3 separate regions of the Homo sapiens genome follow, and all the other regions are linked to region 1. Evidence: promoter capture Hi-C in human tissues and cell types (Jung and others, 2019). All regions are on one chromosome and are shown on one strand. Each heading gives the region's core, a stretch centred on a gene start or on the middle of the fragment in contact. The rest is flanking DNA. Distances are from core to core; before and after follow the strand shown.

Evidence for each region. Contacts are between HindIII fragments. The study calls those that stand out against the background at their distance.
Region 2: a contact is called between a fragment that was not itself captured here and the fragment with the promoter of FSBP in region 1, in 1 of the 25 tissues and cell types used here (mesenchymal stem cells).
Region 3: the fragment with the promoter of RAD54B here is called in contact with the fragment with the promoter of FSBP in region 1 in 1 of the 25 tissues and cell types used here (mesenchymal stem cells).

The regions. Positions count from the first base shown.
Region 1 is chr8:94,435,128-94,438,564 of GRCh38, reverse strand. It overlaps FSBP (fibrinogen silencer binding protein), which reads left to right and starts at 1,621. Exons shown (of 2, transcript NM_001256141.2): 1 at 1,621-2,070. The coding sequence starts at 1,697. All of the region lies in intron 3 of RAD54B (RAD54 homolog B), which reads left to right. RefSeq lists an enhancer at 3,265-3,437. The HindIII fragment of the contact is 647 bases long and covers 1,270-1,916 here.
Region 2 is chr8:94,498,740-94,502,176 of GRCh38, reverse strand. VIRMA (vir like m6A methyltransferase associated) reads left to right here. Exons shown (of 24, transcript NM_015496.5): 17 at 2,671-2,803. Among named protein-coding and RNA genes, the nearest start is that of RAD54B, 25 kb to the right of the region's middle. The HindIII fragment of the contact is 4,891 bases long and covers 1-3,437 here.
Region 3 is chr8:94,473,397-94,476,833 of GRCh38, reverse strand. RAD54B (RAD54 homolog B) reads left to right here and starts at 1,719. Exons shown (of 15, transcript NM_012415.3): 1 at 1,719-1,833. RefSeq lists an enhancer at 1,757-1,986. The HindIII fragment of the contact is 13,618 bases long and covers 1-3,437 here.

The sequences.
Region 1 (3,437 bases), core at 372-2,871:
CCTATGTTCTTTCTTTGGTTCTCTTTTAATGTTCCAAAAGCTCAGAAAATGCTAGAATGATTTTGAGTACCTGTGGTCCAGTTGTTGTTGGGGCAGGTCGATTTTCTTTTTGCATCTCTATGGACAAGAATCATTTGCATTACTGATTTCTACAATTTACAGAGCTGTGAAACTGCTCAAAGACAATGAAAGGGTAGAACTATTATGGAATCAAATTACTCAGTAGCGTATACCAGACAACATCTAGCATTCCGTAGAACATCCAGCAATCTTTCACTGTTTTCTGAAAGATAATACACTTAAAGCTTTTAACACATTGGCTCACAGTGAGAGCTCAGTAAATGTAATTTGCTTCTCCATTGTTAAAAGAATGAAAAACAAGATAATTGAGAATTTATAGCATTTCTGTGGAACTACAGTTCCCTGGATAGGTGCTGTATCTAGATTCATTTTTGATTTCATTGGGTCTTGCACAGTGCCTGGGAGCATTTATATACGTGGTCAGTAATTAAAAACAATTTATTTTTCCTACCTCTTAATAACTATCACAGTTGTTCAGTAATAGTTTTATTGGATAGAACTATGTTCAAGTATGTTCTAATTTATTCCCCTATCTGGAAAAATATGTATATTGTGAGAAAATAGGTTTGTCTTGCTTACATTATTATGTATCATATATTTTCATACTGGGGTTAACAAATATATTCTAAGCACCGAAACTGGTGGCCTTGAAAATGGCTAGACTAGCTGTTTCCTTTCATAGTCCAAACTGTGTGAATATAGCTAAATAAAAAATCTGGCTCTATTATAATAGCAAATGTGATTTTGTATGTGGAGTCTTAAGGCGTGATTATACTGTTTCTCACCATGAACAGTGATTTTTTACACATGATAAGGCAGGCTAGCAAATTCACATACATTACGGCTAGAATAATCCATTGCTTTAAAAACATGATTTTTACCTGCTTTTTAGATTGAGTGTTCTATAAAAATTTTTTCTTAAGTGAAAAAAATATGCAGAGGCTAATGTAGACTGTAAAATGAAGGAGAAGCTTAGCTTTACTGTGGAGTCTGGGTCTGGGTGTAACCTAACTAGCTAGAGGATATGCAATTCCTGATTGACAGCAGATCCAGCATTATGCAGATTTTGTAAGGGAGAACACTCAGCTCAGAAACAGTGATGAGAGGCTCTGTTAGGAATTACTACATTCACTACTCATATCTTTTAGTTTTCTGTCTACTGGATTTGTAAATAAATAGCACAAAACAGTTCCTCTTTTGTTTTTATTAAAGTGATACTGCAATGCAGTTCAGTCTGTCAGCTAGGCATACATGTGTGAAATTTGATATTCTCACTAAATTAGCTAATTTTTAGCTGTGTTCCATGCTTATCTCTAGACCTTTGTGTATTAAATCCTGTCTCGAGCTGTTCCCTTTATACACAAGTGTGTTTTGCTTGTGCCTTCCTGTCTTCTTCAGTGAGAAGCTTTATGTAGGTCAGGCTTGGCTTAAGCAGATTTCCTGAACCTGCGTCAGCTTAAGCTGGAGGAATTTTAATAAACCCTCCCCTGTAGGCGTGGGCCTAAATGAGGCTAGCCTAGTTAAGCCTGATCTTTTTCTGTTTGTGAAAAGAGCTGAGCAGAGCTGAAGGCTGCATGGTGGTTTCAGAAACTGCCTACTTAATTTGAAAAGAACAATGGTAGGAAAGGCTAGATCTTCCAATTTTACCTTATCCGAAAAGCTTGATTTGCTAAAGCTTGTGAAGCCATATGTGAAAATTCTCGAAGAACACACTAATAAACATTCAGTAATAGTAGAAAAGAATAGATGTTGGGATATCATAGCAGTTAACTATAATGCAATTGGAGTAGACCGCCCTCCTCGAACAGCACAGGGCCTACGCACCCTTTATAAAAGGCTCAAAGAATATGCCAAACAGGAGCTATTGCAGCAAAAAGAGACCCAATCAGATTTTAAAAGCAATATTTCTGAGCCAACCAAGAAAGTTATGGAGATGATTCCCCAGATTTCCAGTTTTTGCCTGGTAAGAGACAGGAACCACATACAAAGGTAAGCTTTATTTTGTTTTGTTATGGAAAATTATGGCGCCTCCTATCTATTGGGCTTTGGCTTAGTCGTGATAGAGATATGCATAGTAAGCATCCCCACAACGGGAGCAATGAATAGTGTCTTTGTTTTGCATTTTTTAAAAAGAGAAAAGTGAGGCTATGAGGAATTTTTCTGTTGCATTTAAGCTACTTTTTACTGTCTTCCCCTCCCCCTTCCCTCCTGTAGTTTCTAAAAGTAAAGGTTAGGGAGGAATAAGTGGGTTGAAATTTGTGACATCACTTCATAAACTTCTTAAGCTTTAAAATTAAATTATTTAGTTTGCTTCTGAGAGATACTTTTTTTCTCATTTAAGATTACATTTCACTGGAATTTTCAATTTTATATAAAATTTATATAAAGTTAGCAGTTTCTAGAGAAATGGAACCTTGCTTTTTTATGAATTGTCATTGTCTACACTTATTGAATATATGTTAACTAACAAATATAAACAAAATCAATAAGTAAACTTGTTAATGGCATGATTGTGTATATGAAGACAGTTTAAATTATTTTTCTAACACGTTTAAAATAAAGATGAACACAACTAAAGGGAGTTAATGCCTAATTAGGGATTCAGTTTACTTAATAAAATTAAAAGTTTTTTGTTGTTGTTGTTTTTATTCCTTAATAGTCTAGTTTCACTTTGATCTTGGGTCGTATAGGAAAGAGTAAGCTTTCTCTTACTGCTTTGCAAGGATATCAAATTATGAATTTTAAAATACCCCTAAGAGCAACTGGGTTTTTTTAGAGTTAGAAGCAATTTTTTGGTTAAACTTGTCTTCTATGTAACTATTTGCCTTGGAATTTTCAAAAGTATTATCTTGCCACTAATTCAGATTGTAACCTCTGGCAAAATATAAAAATGGCAGCTACATTCTTATTCTGAACCATTTAGGGTAATTTAAACAAATTGTAAACTCCTTGTTAGTTTGAGGAGCCTTTCAAACAAAGCTTTACACAATGTGCTTTTCTATTGGTGGAAGAGGCATTATATAAGCAAATTATTGATTACTATGAAATCCCTTTGAAATTAGGAGAGAAGCAGAAAAAAACCACTTTGTAGCCAAGTGCATATGTTATTTTGGTAATTTACTAGGAAAGTATTTTTGAGCCTAGCTTCTTACCAGATACTGCTTATTTCTACTTGATAGCACAGTAAAAAAAATATCACCAGTGGGAATCCAGGACATGAATACACAGTGGATTAATTCTTGGGGCCACTGGTTAAAATGTTCACTGTGATGACAAATGATGAAATCCCAATAGCTAGATATCCAGAAAACTACGCAGTAAAATTGTTTTATACTGTGCTACTTATGCAGAATTTT
Region 2 (3,437 bases), core at 463-2,962, 64 kb before region 1:
TAATAATAAAAGGCCTTGTCCAATAGGAAAATATTACAATCCTAAACATATATGCACCTAACACTGGAGCTTTGAAATTTATAAAACAATTAATCATAGACCTAAGAAATAAGATAGACAGCAACACGATAATAGTGGGGGACCTCAATACTCCACTGAAAGCATTAGAGAGGTCATCAAGATAGAAACTCAACAAAGAAACAATAGATTTGAACTATACCTTGGAACAAACGGACTTAACAGTTAGATACAGAACATTCCATCCAACAACCACAGAATATACATTCTACTGAATAGTGCATGGAAATTTCGTGCACTGCCTCAACCTTCCAAGTACTACTACAGGCACAAGCCACCATGCCTGGCTAATTTTTGTATCTTTTGTAGAGCCGGGGTTTCAGCTGGTGCCCAGGCTGGTCTCGAACTCCTGGGCTCAAGTGATCCACCTGTCTCTGCCTTCCAAAATGCTGGGATTATAGGTGTGAGCCACCACACCTGGCCCATACTAATACTTTGACTTTGATCCAGTACCAGAAGTGAATTCTAGCCTTTTCCCTTTCTTGATTATTTTATTCTCTAACAGTGAGAAATTCAGCTCTCATTATCTATATTTGCTTATTTGTTTAGCCCTAGTTTACAAATGAAGTAGCAGTCTCAAACTCATTACTAAACCATACTCCTGTGGGAAACAAATTGAGCAATCGGAGTACAGTGTTGTATATGGTTCTTTTTGTCTTTAGCCTTAGTGTATCCAGTCAAAAAACTGTTTTTCAGTTATTTATGTCAGCTTATTTCTTCCCTGTCTCCTTCAGTTTGGTTATATGGTTCATTTGTAATATAGTTAGATTCATTGGTCATAGTCTGCATTCTTATTTTTTCCCTCATATCCTTATTGGTTGTTTTTTTTTTTTTTTTTTTTTTGAGATGGAATCTCGCACTGTCCCCTGGGCTGGAGTGCAATGGTGCGATCTCGGCTCACTGCAACCTGCGCCTCCTGGGTTCAAGTGATTCTCCTGCCTCAGCCTCCCGAGTAGCTGGGATTACAGGCGCCTGCCACCATGCCTGGCTAATTTTTTGTATATATTTTGTTTTTTTAGTGGAGACAGGGTTTCACTATGTTGGCCAGGCTGGTCTCGAACTCCTGACTTCGTGATCCACCTGCCTCGGCCTCCCAAAGTGCTGGGATTACAGTCATGAGCCACTGCGCCCAACCCCTTGTTGATTTTTTAAAAAATTATATCTAGTCAAATTTATGTTTTATGGTGTACAGTTCTATGTGTTTTGACAGATGCTTAGAGTCATGTAGTTCTTATCGGTGACTAATTTTCTAGCAATCTGGGTTGTTTTCAAATTTTGGTGGTTATGAATAAAGCTTTGCACACAGGTTTTTGTGTGAATCTCAGTTTTCATTTCTCTTGGGTAGACACTTAGGAGTGGGGTTACTGGGTTGTATGATAGGTGTGTGTGTTTAACCTTAAAAGAAACTACCGGAGACTCCGTCTCAAAAAAAAAAAAAAAAAAGAAACTACCGAACTGTTTTCCAAAGTAGAGATACCATTTTTCATTCCCACTAGCAGTGTATTAGAGCCCCAGTTGCTCCTCATCCTCCCCAGAACTTGGTATTGCAAGTTTTTAAATGTTAGGCATTCTAATAGGTCCCCAGCTTTTGATAGACCACGGAAGTATGACTCACTTAAAGATTGTGTGTAGTGGTTAGTAATGGGTGTAGTCCAATTTTGAACCCATGCTTTTTCCATTAACATTTTTATTTTTGAATTTAATCTATTTCTCTTTGTTGTTGCCCAGGCCTAGTGCAGTGGCACAATCTCGGCTCACTGCAACCTCCGTCTCCTGGGTTCAAGTGATTCTCCTGCCTCAGCCTCCCCAGTAGCTGGGATTACAGGCGTGCACCACTACGCCTGGCAAATTTTTTATATTTTTAGTAGAGACGGGATTTTACTGTGTTAGCCAGGATGGTCTTGATCTCCTGACCTCGTGATCTGCCCGCCTCGACCTCCCAAAGTGCTGGGGTTACAGGTGTGAGCCACCGCGCCTGGCCAAAAGGTTTATAAATAGGGAACTGGCAAGTTTTCTGTGTTAAGTTTTTTTTTTTTTTTTTTTTTTGAGATGAAGCCTCACTCTGTCCTTCAAGCTGGAGTGCAGTGGCGTGATTTCGGCTCGCTGCAACCTCTGCCTCCCAATCGTTTAAGTGATTCTTCTGCCTCACCTCCTCCCGAGTAGCTGGGATTGCAGGTGTGTGCTGCCACCCCCCGTTAATTTTTGTATTTTTTTTTAGTAGAGACCGGGTTACCCTATGTTGGCCAGGCTGCTCTTAAACTCCTGACCTCAAGTGATCCACCACCTTCGGCCTCCCAAAGCGCCCGGATTACAGGCGTGAGCCACCACACCCAGCCTCTTGTGTTAAATTTTATAAAATGATTATTTGGGGGAATTTTTTTTTAAGATCTTGAAGCTTAGCTTTAAAAGGAGTTGGTAACTATTGACGGTTCTTTGTTATATTTGTGTACAAAGACACACCAAAGTACTTCTTAGCATTTTTAAAAATGATGGAGTAAGTTTTATTCTGTCTGAAGTGAGTTCATTTATCATACCAGTTTTATATGCTCATATTTTAAGATAATATCTTCTCTTTATTTTCTTTATTTACAGTTCTTTAAGGAAAAACAGTAGTGCTCTGCATAGTTTACTGAAACGAGTGGTCAGCACATTTAGTAAGGACACAGGAGAGCTTGCATCTTCATTTTTAGAATTTATGAGACAAATTCTTAACTCTGACACAATTGTAAGTATGTGTGTGTTTGTGTTTGTGTATATATGTATGTATGTATTTGGTGTTTCTTAAATTTGAAATCTTTGGCCAAGTACGATGGCTCACATCTGTAATCTCAGCACTCTGGTGGGCTGAGGTGGGAGGATCTCTTGGGGCCAGGAGTTTGAGACCAGCCTGGGCAAAATAGTGAGACCCTGTCTTGAAAAAAAGAGAAATACTTTGCCGTAAGTTAAATCACTTTATATATTAAATATCCAACATAAAAAAGATCACTTTAGTTCATTTTATTTTATTTTATTTTATTTTAGATAGAGTCTCACTCTGTCATCCAGACTGGAGTGCAGTAGCACAATCTCGGCTCACTGCAACCTCCACATACTGGGTTCAAGTGATTCTCCTGCCTCAGTCTCCTGAGTAGCTGGGATTACAGGCACCTGCCGCCATGCCCAGCTAATTTTTTGTACCTTTTTAGTAGAGATGGGATTTCACCATGTTGGCCAGGCTGGTCTTGAACTCCTGATCTTAGGTGATCTGCCCACCTCGGCCTCCCAAAGTGCTGGGATTACAGGCATGAGCTACCGCACCTGGCCAAGTGCTTTCATTTTAAAATAATTCTTAGATGAGTGTGGTGGCACGTGCCTCTAAT
Region 3 (3,437 bases), core at 470-2,969, 38 kb before region 1:
GGCTGAGGCAGAAGAATTGCTTTAACCCAGGAGGCAGAGGTTGCAGTGAGCCAAGATCATGCCACTGCACTCCAGTTGGGTGACAGAGAAAGACTCCGTCTCAAAAAACAAAACAAAACAAAAAAGACTAGTACTATTCTAAACACATGGGTACAGCAGAGAATAAAGCAAAGATCCTGCCCTCATGTAGCTTATATTCTGAGAGTAATAGAAAAACAATTAACAAATAAGTATATGTTAGGGAATGGAAAGTGTGATGAACTCTATAAAGCAGGGTAAGGGAGATACAAGATGAGACAAGAGAGCAATGCACTGTCAGATAAAGCCCTTTGACAAGTTGATATGTGAGTAATGATCTGAAGTGAAGGATCAAACCAGATGCAAATCTGCAAGAGGAATGTCCCAGGTCACCTTTAGCCAATCTGTTTTAGATTTTCTGAACTCCCCAGATGATATTAAGGTAGGCTGCAGACACTATGAAGCTAGCTTGTTTTCTGGTTACCCTTACTCTTTATGTGTCCCAGTCCAAAGAAGAGGGGGGTGCGGTTTACTAAGGTGCCCAACCTTGGCAGGTCCCCATTTCAAATTCTTGTAACGCTGGCTCCAGGAGCTGCCAAAAGCACAACTCAACCTATGAGGTGCTCTTTATGACTGGAAAAAGTCCCCAGGATAAAAGCTCCTTAAGCACATTACTCTTTTTTTTTGAAACAGGGTCTCTCTGCTGCCCAGGCTGGAGTGCTGCGGCACCATCTCGGTTCATTGCAGCCTTCACCTCCCAGGTTCAAGCGATTCTCCCGCCTTAGTCTGCTGAGTAGCTGGGATTACAGGCGCGCTCCACCAAAACCAGCTAATTTTTGTATTTTTAGTACAGACCGGGTTTCACCATGTTGGCCAGGCTGGTCTCGAACTCCTGACCTCAAGTGATCCGCCCGCCTCGGCCTCCCAAAGTACTGGGATTACAGGCACAAGCCACCGCTCTCAGCCTCAAATTACTCTTTTAAATGGCTGTACCTATTTACACTCCTACCAGCAGCCCAAGAGTTCCCATTGTTTCACATCTTCATTTCACCCTTGATATTTTTTAGCTTTTACTTTTTGTCAAACTGCTGGATAAAACTCAATAAACAACCTTTAGCCATTCTCTCTCCTTTCAGATTAGCCTTTCTAATACCATTTTTCAGGGATAGTTGACTGTGTTACCGCCTAGCACTTAGAAGGTGCTCAGTAAATACTCATTGAATGATGTAACTTTCCTACTTAACATGCTTTAATGCTTTTCCAAGTCCGGAGGCGGCTCCCCTTTTCTGAGAGCCTAATAATCACGTATTCGTTTCTATATTCCCAGAACCTAACAAAGAGTTTGAAAATTATCCTGCAGGCACCGCTAAGTCAATGTTTTTTCGGATGAATGAATAACCAATAGGATATCGTATACTTCTGCGATGCACGCATTTCTATTATCGCACACACCGAATCATACCGTATTTATTACTTATCCACGCAGATGGTGAGGTCTGTAGCCTCGGCATCTACACTGTGTCTGAAAGTAGGCACTAAACCAGTATTTTTTTAATTGAACCGTAAACTTGAATCAAACTTGGAAGCATTTAAAGCCAAACGCAAAGATACATGCGCAGTGATGCAGTAGGGTCGTCCAATCAGAGTAGGGCAGGACAGGGCAGTGCAGCGGCTAGGTAGTGCGCACGCGCGGCGGGCTCGTCCGCGATTGGCTTCGCCGAGGCGGGATCCTTGAGCTTCTCCGGCGGCGAGGGGATAGCTGGTTACCAGAAGGACTTCTTTGCAGGGCCAGTGGTTTCTGTCAGATTTTCGCCGGTGCGTCCTGCAGGGGGAAGCTCGGGAGGCTGCGACAGCCTGTAGGCTCGTGCGGGACAAAGCAGGGAGTGGCGCCGGAGCAGGCCAACGAGGGAGGAGGGAGGGAAGGCGGCAGGAGCGACCGAAGTGGCCTTCTGCGGGCCTGCAGCTTTGGTCTGAAGTGCCAGGGACGCCCTGGTTGCTGGCCCCGGGGGCCTTGGAGCGAAGGGCGGGCGGTGGGGGTTTAGGGTTGTGCGTTTGTGTGGGAGGGATGGTTCTGGGCAGTGGCCCCTGGGGCCGCCACTGCGGTCGCTTTGCGCAGGCTCCTCTTGGCTTTTGGGTCTCTCCCTCACTCCTGCACTGGGAATTTCCTTCCCCAGGGCCAGGGGGTGAAGGCTCTGCGAGCGTCCTGGAGAGTGTCGGTACGCCTTCTTTAGGGGCTTTTACCTCTTCACTGGTCAGGTTTTTCTTGTATTTCCTTAAAACCTTTTAATCGATTACCTTATGGAAGATTTTCTAGGTAGGAACAGATGCTTCTCGACTTACTACGGGGTTGAAAATATCCCAAATGGAAAATGGATTTAAAACACAGCTAACCTACTGAGTATTAAAGCTTGGCCTAGCCTACTTTTGTTATCAAAAAAATTATTTTCAGCTGTTTATTTTAGATTTGGGGGTACATGTGCAGGTTTGTTGCATCGGTATATTACGTGGTGCTGAGGTTTGGATACGATTGATCCTGTCACCCAGGTAGTGAGCATGTTACCCAATAGTTTTTGAACCCTTGCTCCTCCTTTCCTCTCCCTTCTAGTTGTCTCCACTGTCTATTGTTGCCATCTTTATGTTCATGAATGCCCAATGTTTAGCTCCCATTTATAAGTGAGAACATGCAATATTTGATTTTCTGTTTCTGCTTTAATTCGCTTTGGATAATAGCCTCCAGCTGCACCCATGTTGCTGCAAAGGACATGATTTCATTCCTTTTTATGGCTGCGCTAGCCTACCTTAAACATGCTCAGAACACTTACCTTAATCTACAGTTGGGCAAAATCATGAACACAGACGGTTGTGTGGTTACTTGTACAGTTTCTACTGAATGCTCATGGCTTTCTTAAAAGTCGAAGAATTCTAAGTGACACCGTCCTAAATTAGGAACCATCTATATAGCCGGAGTCTCAAAGGAGCAATTTAAGGCATGAAGTGAAATAATTACTACCTAATGTAGTTGGAAGTCGACAAGCAGCAACAGCAGGGAGAGACCGTTGCTGGTTCTTGGTAGAGTTGGTGTACTTACATTCTTGCATCCTCGACGTTTGATGGTTGCACATACCTCTCTTTAAAGCCCAGACGAACCCAAAGATTCTGGTCATTGTCCTGTATGTTGAACTACCCCTTCTCTATCTCCTTCACAGGACCTTCATCATTTCTACTCTCCGATAATACTAATTATAACAGATAACATTGAGTGCTTACTATGTGTCAAGTTTTGTTCTAAGTGCTTTACATATTTCATTTAATCCTCCCAACAGTCCGGTGTGTAAGCATGATTATGGTACCCCCTCTTAAAGATGAGGAAACTGAGACACATGGAGCCAAAGTAAACTGTGCAAGACCATTAGAAAGTG